Regions from separate parts of the Homo sapiens genome. Here region 2 is linked to region 1. The links are contacts of gene promoters, found by promoter capture Hi-C in blood cells and fetal thymus (Javierre and others, 2016). All regions are on one chromosome and are shown on one strand. The core of a region is centred on a gene start or on the middle of the fragment in contact, and the rest is flanking DNA. Distances in the headings are between cores, read along the strand shown.

Region 1 (6,368 bases), core at 2,586-5,085:
TATTATTTTTCTTTTAAACTGGACACATAGATTTTTATATCCTTTTTAATACGTATTTTACAATGAAAATGTTTTTAAAAATTATCTTTTGGGCCGGGTACAGTGGATCACGCCTGTAAGCCCAACACTTTGGGAGGCCAAGGTGGAGGGGTCACTACGTCAAGAGATCGAGACCATCCTGGCCGACATGGTGAAACCCTGTCTCTATTAAAAATACAGAAATTAGCCGGGCATGGTGGTGGGCGCCTGTAGTCCCAGCTACTCATGAGGCTGAGGCAGGAGAATCGCTTGAACCCAGGAGGCAGAGGTTGCAGTGAGCCAAGATCATGCCACTGCACTCCAGCCTGGCAACAGAGTGAGATTCCACTCAAAAAAAAAAAAAAAATTCTCTTTTGAGCCCTGCCACAATTTATATTCATAAACTCTTGCCCCAGTAGATGGTGCTGTGTCTTGGGAAGCTCTAAATGAAGGAGTGCCCTAGCTTATTGGGTTGCAGCTTGGAGTCCATGGAAGCTCGTATGTGAATCTCGAGGAAATCAATTTCAACTTTTACCCTCTCAATGGGATTTTGTATGAAACCATGCTCGAGTGTGTGTGTGTGTGTGTGTGTGTGTGTGTGTGTGGTGTCTTTAGACTGTAATATCTAAGATTAACTTGGGTGATCACTAAAACTCCAGAAGTGCTTTGCCACATTATAACCAGGCTTGAAGTCTTGAAGCCTCTACATCTTTTTTTTTTTGAGACGGAGTCTAGCTCTGTCACCCAGGCTGGAGTGCAGTGACATGATCTCAGCTCACTGCAAGCTCTACCTCCCGGGTTCACGCCATTCTCCTGCCTCAGCCTCCCTAGTAGCTGGGACTACAGGCACCCGCCACCAGGCCCGGCTAATTTTTTGTATTTTTAGTAGAGACGGGGTTTCACCGTGTTAACCAGGATGGTCTTGATCTCTTGACCTCGTGATCCGCCTGCCTCAGCCTCCTAAAATGCTGGGATTACAGGCGTGAGCCACCGTGCCCAGCCTGAAGCCTCTACACCTTCTATAAGAATCTCAAAAATTGTTAAAGACTGTGAAAGCCTGTAATCCCAGCACTTTGGGAGGCCAAGGCAGGCGGATCATGAGGTCAAGATTTTGAGACCATCCTGGCCAACACCCTGTCTCTACTAAAAATACAGTGACACCCTGTCTGACACCCCGTCTCTACTAAAAATACAGAAATTAGCTGGGCATGGTGGCACGCACCTGCAGTCCCAGCTACTCGGGAGGCTGGGGCAGGAGAATCACTTGAACCCGAGTGGCAGAGGTTGCAGTGAGCCAAGATGAGATCATGCCACTGCACTCCAGCCTGGGCAGCTGAGCAAGACTCTATCTCAAAAAAAAAAAAAAAAAAAAAAAAAAAAAAAGACCGTGAAAGGACTGGGTAGCTATCTAAGAAAAATATTAACAGCAACACTGGCAAGAAATTGCCATAGCCCCTGACTACCGTTCTTGGATTCTTCAGCTGTGTCCACCAATGTTGTAAACATGGAAGTATTTAGTCATTCCACAAATATTTATTGAGTACCTACAGAGTCCCAGGAACTCTGATGTCCCAGGTGTTGTGTTTGGAAAATTCAGGAAAATAGAGAGTGGTCTCTTTCCACCTGCTGCTCTATGCAGCATGGGAGACAGACAGGTAAACAGGACATTACAATAAAATGCAATGTAGAAACCCAGACACAGTGCTTTGGAAGCATAGAAAATGTATCTGTTAACTCTGCCAGAGGGGTTAGGAAGGGATTAAGAAGGAGATTTAAAGGATGACTAGGAGTTCCTAGGCAAATAGGAGGAGGAAACAGCCCATGCAAATAGCTCAGCAAGGCTATGGCCAGTAGTGTGGTTTGACTAAAGCTCACAATCTGTGAGAATGTGGGGAGAGAATCAGAACATAATCAGAGGCCTGATTATCAGGTGCCTGGCCAAGTTGAGGAGTTTGTACTTTATCCTACAAGGGAGATAAACTTTATCTCCCTTGCTTTATCCGACCAGGAGAAGCAATGAAAGACTTTAATCAGAGGAGTGACAGGATTAGGTTTGCATTTCAGAAGGATTTCTTTTTTTTCTTTACTTTCTTTTTTTTTTTTTTTTTGAGACGAAGTCTCACTCTGTTGCTCAGGCTGGAGTGCAGTGGTGCAATCTTGGCTCACTGCAACCTCCATCTCCTGGGTTCAAGCAATTCTCTTGCCTCAGCCTCCCGAGTAGCTGGGATTACAGGCATTCACTACCACACCCAGCTAATTTCTGTATTTTTAGTAGAGATGGGGTTTCACCATGTTGGCCAGGCTGGTCTTGAACTCCTGATCTCAAGTGATCCACCCACCTCATCCTCCCAAAGTGATGGGATTACAGGCGTGAGCTACCACACCAGGCTCAGAAGGATCTTTGACACAGATATAAAGGATGATGGGCTAGAGAAAGCGAGAGCGGAGGCTTAGAACTGCTTAGGGAGCTTTTCAAATAATTCAGGTGAAAGCTACTGAGGAGTTAATTGTGGGTAGCAGCAGGGCAGAGCTGTTTTCTCTATTTCTAGTTAGGACTTTGGCCCATCCTTCCAGAATTTCAGTGGCAGTGCTTTCAGGGTTCAGGTGAGTGAAGGCACTGTAAAGGTCCTGATGGAATTTGAGGCCAGCCTGGGCAACATAGTGAGACCCCGTCTCAATTTATATTAAAACATAAATTAATTAGAAAAATAAAAAATAAAGGTCCTGAGGGCCAGGCAAAATGCCTCAGATAAAGAAATCATCATGAACGGCACCAAGTGGTTCATTCATTCATTCATACATTTATGTGTTACTAATTCAGCCAGAGGTTTAAAGCACATCTTTTTCATTAGGAAGGTGAGCCTTAAAGGTGAATACTCAAGGGGCCTGAATACTTAAGGAGGGGAAGGGGATGCTATATGCTTTCACTTCAAGTCAGCGGGAAGAATGGCACACTCAAAGTGGGGAGGTCAGCCTGGCATGGTGGCACCTGTAGTCCCAGCTACTCCAGAGGCTGAGGCAGAGGGATCGCTTGAGCCCAGAGTGTCGAGGCTCCAGTGAACTATGACCTTGTTTCTTAAAAAAACAGCTGGGAGTTTATATTCTAGGGATAGGGTGACAAACGAACAACTTCCAAAATGCACAAGATGTATGGGGAACAATTAGTTTGGCTGGAATTTGCGTTGGGGGGAGATCAGAAGCTGTTGAGAAATAAGGCTATAGTTGGTGAAGATATCCGACTCGTAAAAAGGCAATGGGATTTAGAAATTCCTGGGATTCTGTTTCTTTGACTCGGGGTTAGGAAGACAGGGAAGTAACAAGTGCCTTTTTTTTTTTTTTTAATAGTTAAGGGACCTGAGACTGGGGGTGGGGGGCAATGTCATCTGCCCCAGGCCACACAAGTGTAAGATCAGGCATGCATGTCTGCCAAGGTTTCAGTTCAATGTCCGTGCCCCTCTTTTGCTCTCTTCCCAAGGTACAGAGGCGGAACGGCGCGGTGCCCTCGGGTCCCAAGAGAGAAGGGCGCCAAGCTCAGAGCCAGTTCTGTGGAAGGGTAGGGGAAGGCCTGACCCCGGGGGCAATGTGGTGGCGGGACAGTCGTATACACCTTCAGGAGAACCACCTCAGGCTGACAGGCAGTGCGGAGGGCCCCAAGAGCGCCTTAGGGTTGCCTGCTCCAGAGAGCGGGACTCCTGCGCTGCAGCCGGGATACTGGGCGCCGCCGTGCGCCCACCCCCTGCCAGTGGTTCGCTCCGAACACCCCTCGTCGGGCGGCGGGTACTGCGGCCCGCCCCACTTCCGGTTGTTGTCCGGCCCTATATCCGGTGTCCGCCCGCCCTCGGCTCCTCCGCCGTGATGCTGTCCCGATCCCGCTGTGTGTCTCGGGCGTTCAGCCGCTCGCTCTCCGCCTTCCAGAAGGTACGGTCTGGCCGAGCCGGGGCCCCGACGGGTGAGGAGTCTGTTGGCGGGCAGAGAGGCGGCCTGGAAGGCAGGGGCGCGGCGCGCCGGCCGGGCCGGGCACCAAGGGCACTGGGACGCGGAGGCCGCGCGGGCTGGGCGGCCCGGGGCCGTGGTTGCCCTCGGGACCGTTTTGCGGAGCCCAGCGGCCCCCTGCCTTCTCCAGGCAGCCTGCGGGGAACGTTTCCTGCTGTACCCCACCCTCCGCGCGGGAGCTGGGGAGCCGCGCCCGTCCAGATACTTGACTCAGAGTTAGGGAGGAGGCGCGGCGGAGTCCTCCGGCGGGATTCGGCGCCCGTCTCGTCTTGCTCTGTTAAAATCAGTGGGTATTAATGAGTCCCGTTGGGAAGTTGAGATAGTTTGGCAGGCCCAGCGTGTTGATTGGGTCTGCCAGCACGGTGTGTTGCATTTACCTTCGGAGTTACGAGATTCACCTGTCACCACCACTGGGACAGCTTTGAGCGTGTACTTAAAAGAAAAAGCTGGGTTTTTTTTTCATCTTGGGTGACGTCGATAATGTCTTCTTTCTCAACAGGGGAACTGCCCTCTAGGGAGACGTTCCCTGCCTGGTAAGTTCTGCCCTTACCGTCACCTAAAATGCTCTCCTCCTGGGCAGAGCAGTATGTGAGGAACTCGGGGGTGCCTGTGTTTCTCATAATATTTAAAGACAGTTTGGTTCAGAGAGTAGTGAGACGCAATGCTACATAATCACGAGCTATCGCTTATTCATTTAGCTCGTAGTTGAGTTTCTACTGTGTTAGGCACTGTGCTAGACGCTAGGGATACAGGAGTGGATACAGAAGTGTACAGTTCTTGCCCTCGTGGAGCTCCTAGGCTAGTTGGATAGTGTCAGTTGCTAAACAAGCCAACAAAGGCAAATTTTTGTAACTGCTGAGAAGGAAACGAGGGTGGACAGAAGAGCCCTTTTTGAGGAGGTGACTTAAAAGTTATGGCCATGGCCGGGCGCGGTGGCTGACGCCTGTAATCCCAGCACTCTGGGAGGCTGAGGCGGGCGGATCACGAGGTCAGGAGATCGAGACCATCCTGGTTAACACGGTGAAACCCCATCTCTACTAAAAAATACAAAAAATTAGCCGGGCGTGGTGGCAGGCGCCTGTAGTCCCAGCTCCTCGGGAGGCTGAGGCACGAGAATGGCGTGAAGCCGGGAGGCGGAGCTTGCAGTGAGCCGAGTTCGCGCCACTGCACTCCAGCCTGGGCGACAGAGCGAGACTCCATCTCAAAAAAAAAAAAAAAAAAAAGTTATGGCTAGCAGAATGTGACGGAGCTAACCCAGTGAAGCCCAGGAGAAAGAGAATGGCATTCACAAAGACCCTGAGGAAGAAAAGAGGTTGGCAGAACTTAAGAGCTGGAAAAAAGGTGATTTGGCCGGAGTATTTTGGTTAAGGGAGAGAGTGGCAAGAGATAGAAGATGGTATAGAGACTGAAGGAGTTTAGATTTTATCCTAGCAGTTAAAAAGAAAAAAGTGTCATCCATAGCTTTTTTTCTGTTATATGCCTAGCCTAAGTATTTGTTGAATGAGTTGACCTTGTTGTGGGCTTTCTTTGTGCCAAGCATTTATATGAGTGCTTTCTGTGAATTTTTTAGTTAATCATCTCAAAACAGTAAAAAGTATTTTCTCTATTTTACAAATGCATAACCCAAGACAAGAGAGCTTAAAAGCCTTGGCCATGGTCACCCACCCAGCTGTTGATAAGCCAGGTCTACCTGACCCATCCTGAACTCTTAACCCACCATGTTCTCATTTACTCATGGACTCAACAGATCATTTATTGAGTGCTTACTATATGCCAGCCACTGTTCTAGGTAACAGGGGTATAGATAGACTCTAGCCTCGAGATTTTATGGGCTAGCTGGAGAGAGAGAGCAAATATACATTTATGCTCCGACAAGGGCATAAATTTTGGTTACTACGAGAGAGGAATTAAAGGGTGTGATGAGAGGGTGGGATGATGTAGACCAGCTTGGGAAGGTTGGGAATGTCAGTAAAGGCTTCCCTGAAGAAGTGACATTTAACTGAGACCTGAATATAAAAGAGCCAAGAAAATGTATTCCAGGCAAAGGGAATTGCTTGTGCAAAGGTTTTCAGACAGGAAAGGACTTGACCAGTGATAGACATGGGAAGAAGCCTGTCTGGCAGGAAAGATAGAGTGGGCTGGACGGTACAGGATCGCGTAAAGTGTGGACTTTATCCTGAGAGTTATGAGAACATAAAGCCCCTAGCACAATGTCGGCTTGTAGTGGACTCTCAATAACAAACATGTTTTTCAAGTGGGAACCCTGAACAATGTCAGTAAACATTTTCTCCACTTCATAGGTGGGCAGGACAATGGAAAGAGCCTTGCACTTGGGGATTTGCATTTGGGCTCAGGGA
Region 2 (5,751 bases), core at 1,673-4,172, 420 kb after region 1:
CCTCAAGTGTAAAACTGGAATGATAGTAGCTATTGGATAAGATTGCTGTGAGGGTTAAATGAAAAAAATGTGGAAAGTGATGCCGGGCCCAGCACATGGTGAGCTCTCAATGAATGCTGGTTGTGTCTGACTTAAAGATTATCTTCTTTTCAGGGGAAGATAGGCTTGGAGACTGACGTTCGATTTCCTGGAAAAGTTGGGAGCAGGTGGAGATGGTAAATGAGGCTGGGTGCAGTGGCTCATGCTGGTAATTCTAGTACTTTGGGAGACCGAGGCTGGTGGATCGCTTGAGTTTAGCAGTTCAAGACCAGCCTAGGCAACATGGTGAAACCCCATCTTTACAGAAAATACAAAAAAAATTAGCTCAGCATGGTGGCATGCACCTGTAGTCCCAGCTACTTGGGAGGATCAACTAAGCCTGGGAGTTTGAGGCTGCAGTGAGCCACAATCATGCCACTGTACTCCAACCTGGGGGCAACAGAGTGAAACCTTGCCTTAAAAAAAAAAAAAAAGGGTGAATGAGGAAGATGCTGGGGAGGGCAAGCGAGAAGAGGATAAGCAATAGAGGAGCTGATGGTGACGAGGTAAAGAAAGGATTAGTAGCGGGGAGAGCAGGGGAGGATAGGAAGAGAATGGGAACTGGAAGGACAGAGGTGAGATGTCCACATGGGCCATTTGGTGCAGGGCCCCCGGGAGGCAGAACCATGCAGTAGTCACTTTGGGAACTGGGGGGCTACCTCAATCAGGTCTGGGTGAGCCTGTGTCCTCTGGTCCCTGGCCCCATCGAGCTGCCCCTTCCTGCCCTCCTCTGTCTCAGCCTCATCTTGCATCACTCCATGCCTGTCTTCTCTCAGTTCCTTGAGTAAGCATGTTCCTCTCTGTTGCGTGACCTTTGTACATTCTGTCCCCTCCCCCGCCACCCCCCGCACAGGAACTCTACTCTTTCCTGGCTAACTCCCACACATCCTTCAGATCTCTAGCTTAAAGCTCACTTCCTGGTCAGGCCTGGTGGCTCATGCCTGTAATCCCAGCACTTTGGAGGCCGAGACAGGAGGGTCATTTGAGCTCAGGAGTTCAAGACCAGCCTGGGCAACACAGTGAGACCTCATCTCTACAAAAGATAAACAAAATTATCCAGGCGTGGTGGTGCATACCTGTGGTCCCAGCTAGCTGGGAGGCTGAGGTGGGAGGATCGCTTGAGGCTTGGAGGTGGAGGCTGCAATGAGTCATGATGGCACCACTTTACTCCAGCCTGGATGACAAAGTGACACCTCAACTCTGAAAACAAAACAAAACAAAAAGATGACTTCTTCTGAGGATTTCTCTGAACATTCCATATAAAGCAGCCCCTCATCCCCACTCCCTTTCCCTTTACTCTGTCATGGCCCTCTCTCTGAACCTGCAGAGCAAGGACAAGGTTTGTAGTTATGTGTGATTATGGGATTACACACACTTGGTGTCCCCACTAGGCTGAAAGCTCCATGAGGGCAGGAACAGGGTCTGATTTTTGCTCACAATTGTATCCCTGATGCCCAGCACACAGTAAGCAATCAATAAGCATTTATTGAAATGGAAAAAGCCTATGCCTTTTTTTTTTTTTTTTGAGACGGAGTCTTGCTTTGTCCCCCAGGCTGGAGTGCAGTGGTGCCATCTCGGCTCACTGCAACCTCCACTTCCCTGGTTCAAGTGATTCTCCTGCCTCAGCCTCCTGAGTAGCTGGTATTACAAGTGCGTGCTACCACATCTGGCTAATTTTTGTATTTTTCGTAGAGATGGGGTTTCACCATGTTGCCCAGGCTGGTCTCGAACTTCTGACCACAAGTGATCTGCCTGTCTCGGCCTCCCAAAGTGCTGAGATTACAGTCGTGAACCACTGCGCCCGGCCAAGCCTATGCATTTATGACCAATGAAATGCTTTTACACCCTCTCCTGTGGCTCCAATTCCATCTTGATTGATGTTGGTTGCTTGGTCGAAGGAACAGGACATTTGGGGGCTTCAAGGGAGGCCTTAGCCAGCTCCTTTCCTACCCTCTTTTCCTTTGAGGAAGAAGCTTCCCTTTCTATGACTAGACACTTTCAACCAGTACTTCTCAAATTTTAATGTGTCTATAAATTACCCCGGGGATCTTCTTTTTTTTATTTTTATTTTTTATTTTGAGACCAAGTCTCACTCTGTCGCCCAGGCTGGAGTGCAGTGGCGTGATCTCGGCTCACTGCCACCTCCGCCTCCCGGGTTCAAGCCATTCTCCTGCCTCAGCCTCCCAAGTATCTGGGAGTACAGGCACTCACCAGCACGTCCGGCTAATTTTTGTGTTTTTAGTAGAGACGAGGTTTCACCATGTTGGCCAGGCTGTGTGTCGAACTCCTGACCAGCAGGAATTCCTGATCCACCCGCCTTGGCCTCCCAAAGTGCTGGGATTACAGACCTGAGCCTCTGTGCCTGTCCTTCGACCGGGGATCTTCTTAACGTGCAAATTCTGAGGCAGATCTGGGGTAGGATCGAGATTCTGCGTCTCTAACAATCTCCCAGGTGAAGTCCATAATGCTAATTCCAGGACCAAGGCTTTCACATTTCGGCATCTGTGATCTACAGGCCACTGGGATTTCCACGCTTTAGGTTGAGTCGCTGCGCCCCCTCTTGACCACTAAAGGATATGACAATCTTCGACCGAGGGGATAAAGACACCGTGCATGAATTGTAAAACACATCACACTCTTGGGGAATAGGATCTTCTCTAAAAGCAAATGGGCATACGGATTCCGATAGCATTAGTACATTTATTCTTCATTTTAATTTAATTTTATTTTTTGTAGAGACAGGGTTTTGCCATGTTGCCCAGACTGGTCTCGAATTCCTGAGCTCAGGCCACCCACTCGCCTCTGCCTCCCAAAGTGCTGGGATTACAGGCATGAGCCACCGCGCCCGGCCTGCAGAGTGTATTCTTAAGAATAAATTGGGGTGGGTGTCGTGGCTTACGCCTATAATCCCAACACTTTGGGAGTCCGAGGCGGGCGGATCACGAGGTCAGGAGTTCAAGACCAGCCTGGCCAACATGGTGAAACCCTGTCTCTACTAAAAATACAAAAATTAACCGGGTGTAGTGGCGGGTGCCTGTAATTCCAGCTACTCGAGAGGCTGAGGCAGGAGAACCACTTGAACTTGGGAGTCGGAGGTTGCAGTGAGCCGAGATGGTGCCATTGCACTCCAGCCTGGGTGACGAAGCAACACTGTCTCAAAAAAGAAGAAGAAAAAAAAAAGAATAAATTTTCTGATCGGGCCTGGTGGCTGCGACTATAAGTGTGTGCCACCATGCCTGCCTAATTTTTGTATTTTTTTGTACAGACATGGTTTCGTACAAAACCTTGTCTCCAGCTCCTGGGCTAAACACTCTGCCTTCCTCGGCTTCCCAAAGTGCTGGGATTACAGGTGTGAGCCACTGTGACCAGGCCTCCTTTTTTTTTTTTCTTCCTATTTTTTATATATGGTGGTAAAATACACACAACATTTGCCATCTTAACCATTTTTAAGTGTCCAGGTCAGTGGTATTAAATACATTCACAATGTCGTGCAGCTGTCACCACCATCCCACCATCTGTCTGTCTCTAGAACTCTGTCTCCTAAAACTGAAACCCTGTACCCATTAAACAGTAATTTCTTATTCTTCCCTCTCCCCAGCCCCTGGCATCCACCATTTTACTTTCTGTTGCTATGATTTTAAGGGACTTTATATAAGTGGAATCATACAGTGGGTATCCTTTTCTGACTGGCTTGTATCACGTAGTATAATGGCCTCAAGCTTCATTCAGGCTGCAGTATGTGTTGGAATGTCTTTCCTTTTTAAGGCTGAATAATATTCCATTATACATATACACCACGTTTTGCTTATCCATTCATCATTGATGGACATTTGGGTTGCTTCTACATTTTAGCTATTATGAATAATGCTGCTATGAACATGGGTGTACAAATATCTCTTTGAGATCAGCTTTCAGTTTTTGGGGGTATATACGCAGGGTAGAATTTTGGGGTCATATGGTAATTTTATTTTTAATTTTAAAAGAAACCCCCACACTGTTTTCCACAGCAGCTGTGCCATTTTACATTCTCACCAACAGTGCATAGAGTTCCAATTTCTCTACATCCTTGACAAAGTTTGTAATTTTTTCTCTCTCTCTGTGTGTGTGTGTGTGTGTGTGTGTGTGTGTGTGTGTATTTTTTTTAGAGAGTCTTGCTCTGTTGCCCAGGCTGGAGTGCAGTGGTATGCTCATGGCTCACTGTAGCCTTGATCTCCTGGGCTCAAGCGATGCTCCCACTTCAGCCTCCCGAGTAGCTGGGACTATAGGCATGGACCACCACACCTGGCTAATTTTAATGTAATGTAATTTAATTTTTTTTTTTGTAGAGATGGGGTCTCACTATGTTGCTTTGGCTGGTCTCAAACTCCTGGGCTCAAGCAATCCTCTTGCCTCAGCCTTGCAAAGTGTTGGGATTACAGGCATGAGCTACTGCACCTAGCCTGTGTGTGTGAGTGTGGTGTTTTCGTTTTTTGTTTTTGAGACGGAGTTTTGCTCTCGTTGCCCAGGCTAGAGTGCAATGGCGTGATCTCAGCTCACTGCAACCTCTGCCTCCTGGGTTCAAGCAATTCTCCTGCCTCAGCCTCCTGAGTAGCTGGGATTGCAGGCATACACCACCACGCCCAGCTAATCTTGTATTTTTAGTAGAGATGGGGTTTCTCCATGTTGGTCAGGCTGGTCTCGAACTCCCAACCTCAGGTGATCCACCCACCTTGGCCTCCCAAAGTGCTGGGATTACAGGCGTGAGCCACTGTGCATGGTCTTGTGTGTTTTTTTTTAATAGTAGCCATCCTAATGGGTGTGAGGTGGTATCTCACTGTAGTTTTGATTTCCATTTCCCTAATGTCTAGTGATGTCGAACATCTTTTGTGCTTATTTATTAGCCATTTATATATCTTCTTTGGAGAAATGTCTATTCAAGTCCTTTGGCCATTTTTGAACTGGGTTGTTTGCTTTTTTGTTGTTGAGTTTTAGGAGTTCTTTATATATTCTGGATATTAATCCTTTATCAGCTATATGATTTGCAAATGTTTTATCTCATCTTGTGGGTTGCTTTTTCACTCTGTTGCTAGTGTCTTTTCTTGCACAAAATTTAAAAATTTTCATGAAGTCTAATTTGTCTATTTTTTCTTTTATTGCTTATGCAATAAAAGTGTCATATCCAGAAAAATCATTGCCAAATCTAATGTTGTGAAGCTTATCTCCTGTGTTTCCTTCGGTGAGTTTTACAGCTTTAGGCCTTACATTTGGGTCTTTGATGCATTTTGAGTTAATCTTTGCATATGGTGTTAGGCAAGTGTCCAACTTCATTTACACGTGGATATCCAGTTTTCCCAGCACCATTTGTTGAAAAGACTGTCCTTTCCCCATTGAATGGTCTTGGCACTTTTGTCAAAAATCACTTGATAATAGTCAAGTTAATTAATAATTATATTGATTAACAATTAATATAATTATAAAATTATATTTTATGACTACATTGGTATAAAGAAAAATATATTAATATTATATATTAAAACTTTTTTTCAGGCTGGGCATGGTGGCTCACGCCTATAATCCCAACACTTTGGGATGCCAAGGCGGGTGGATCACCTAAGGTCAGGAGTTTGAGACCAGACTGGCCAACATGGTGAAACCCTGTCTCTACTAAAAATACAAAAAATTAGCCGGGCGTGG

What was found. The method cuts DNA at HindIII sites, captures the fragments that hold promoters and counts their contacts. A CHiCAGO score of 5 or more calls a contact.
Region 2: a fragment that was not itself captured here is called in contact with the fragment with the promoter of DLST in region 1 in 2 of 17 cell types (erythroblasts and endothelial precursors); the score reaches 7.7 in erythroblasts.

What each region holds. Positions count from the first base shown.
Region 1 is chr14:74,878,081-74,884,448 of GRCh38, forward strand. DLST (dihydrolipoamide S-succinyltransferase) reads left to right here and starts at 3,836. Exons shown (of 15, transcript NM_001933.5): 1 at 3,836-3,936; 2 at 4,511-4,544. The coding sequence starts at 3,874. RefSeq lists silencers at 3,768-3,994, 3,851-4,180. The HindIII fragment of the contact is 10,796 bases long and covers 1-6,368 here.
Region 2 is chr14:75,301,066-75,306,816 of GRCh38, forward strand. No RefSeq gene overlaps it. Among named protein-coding and RNA genes, the nearest start is that of LINC01220, 9.5 kb to the left of the region's middle. RefSeq lists an enhancer at 3,154-3,323. The HindIII fragment of the contact is 1,746 bases long and covers 2,050-3,795 here.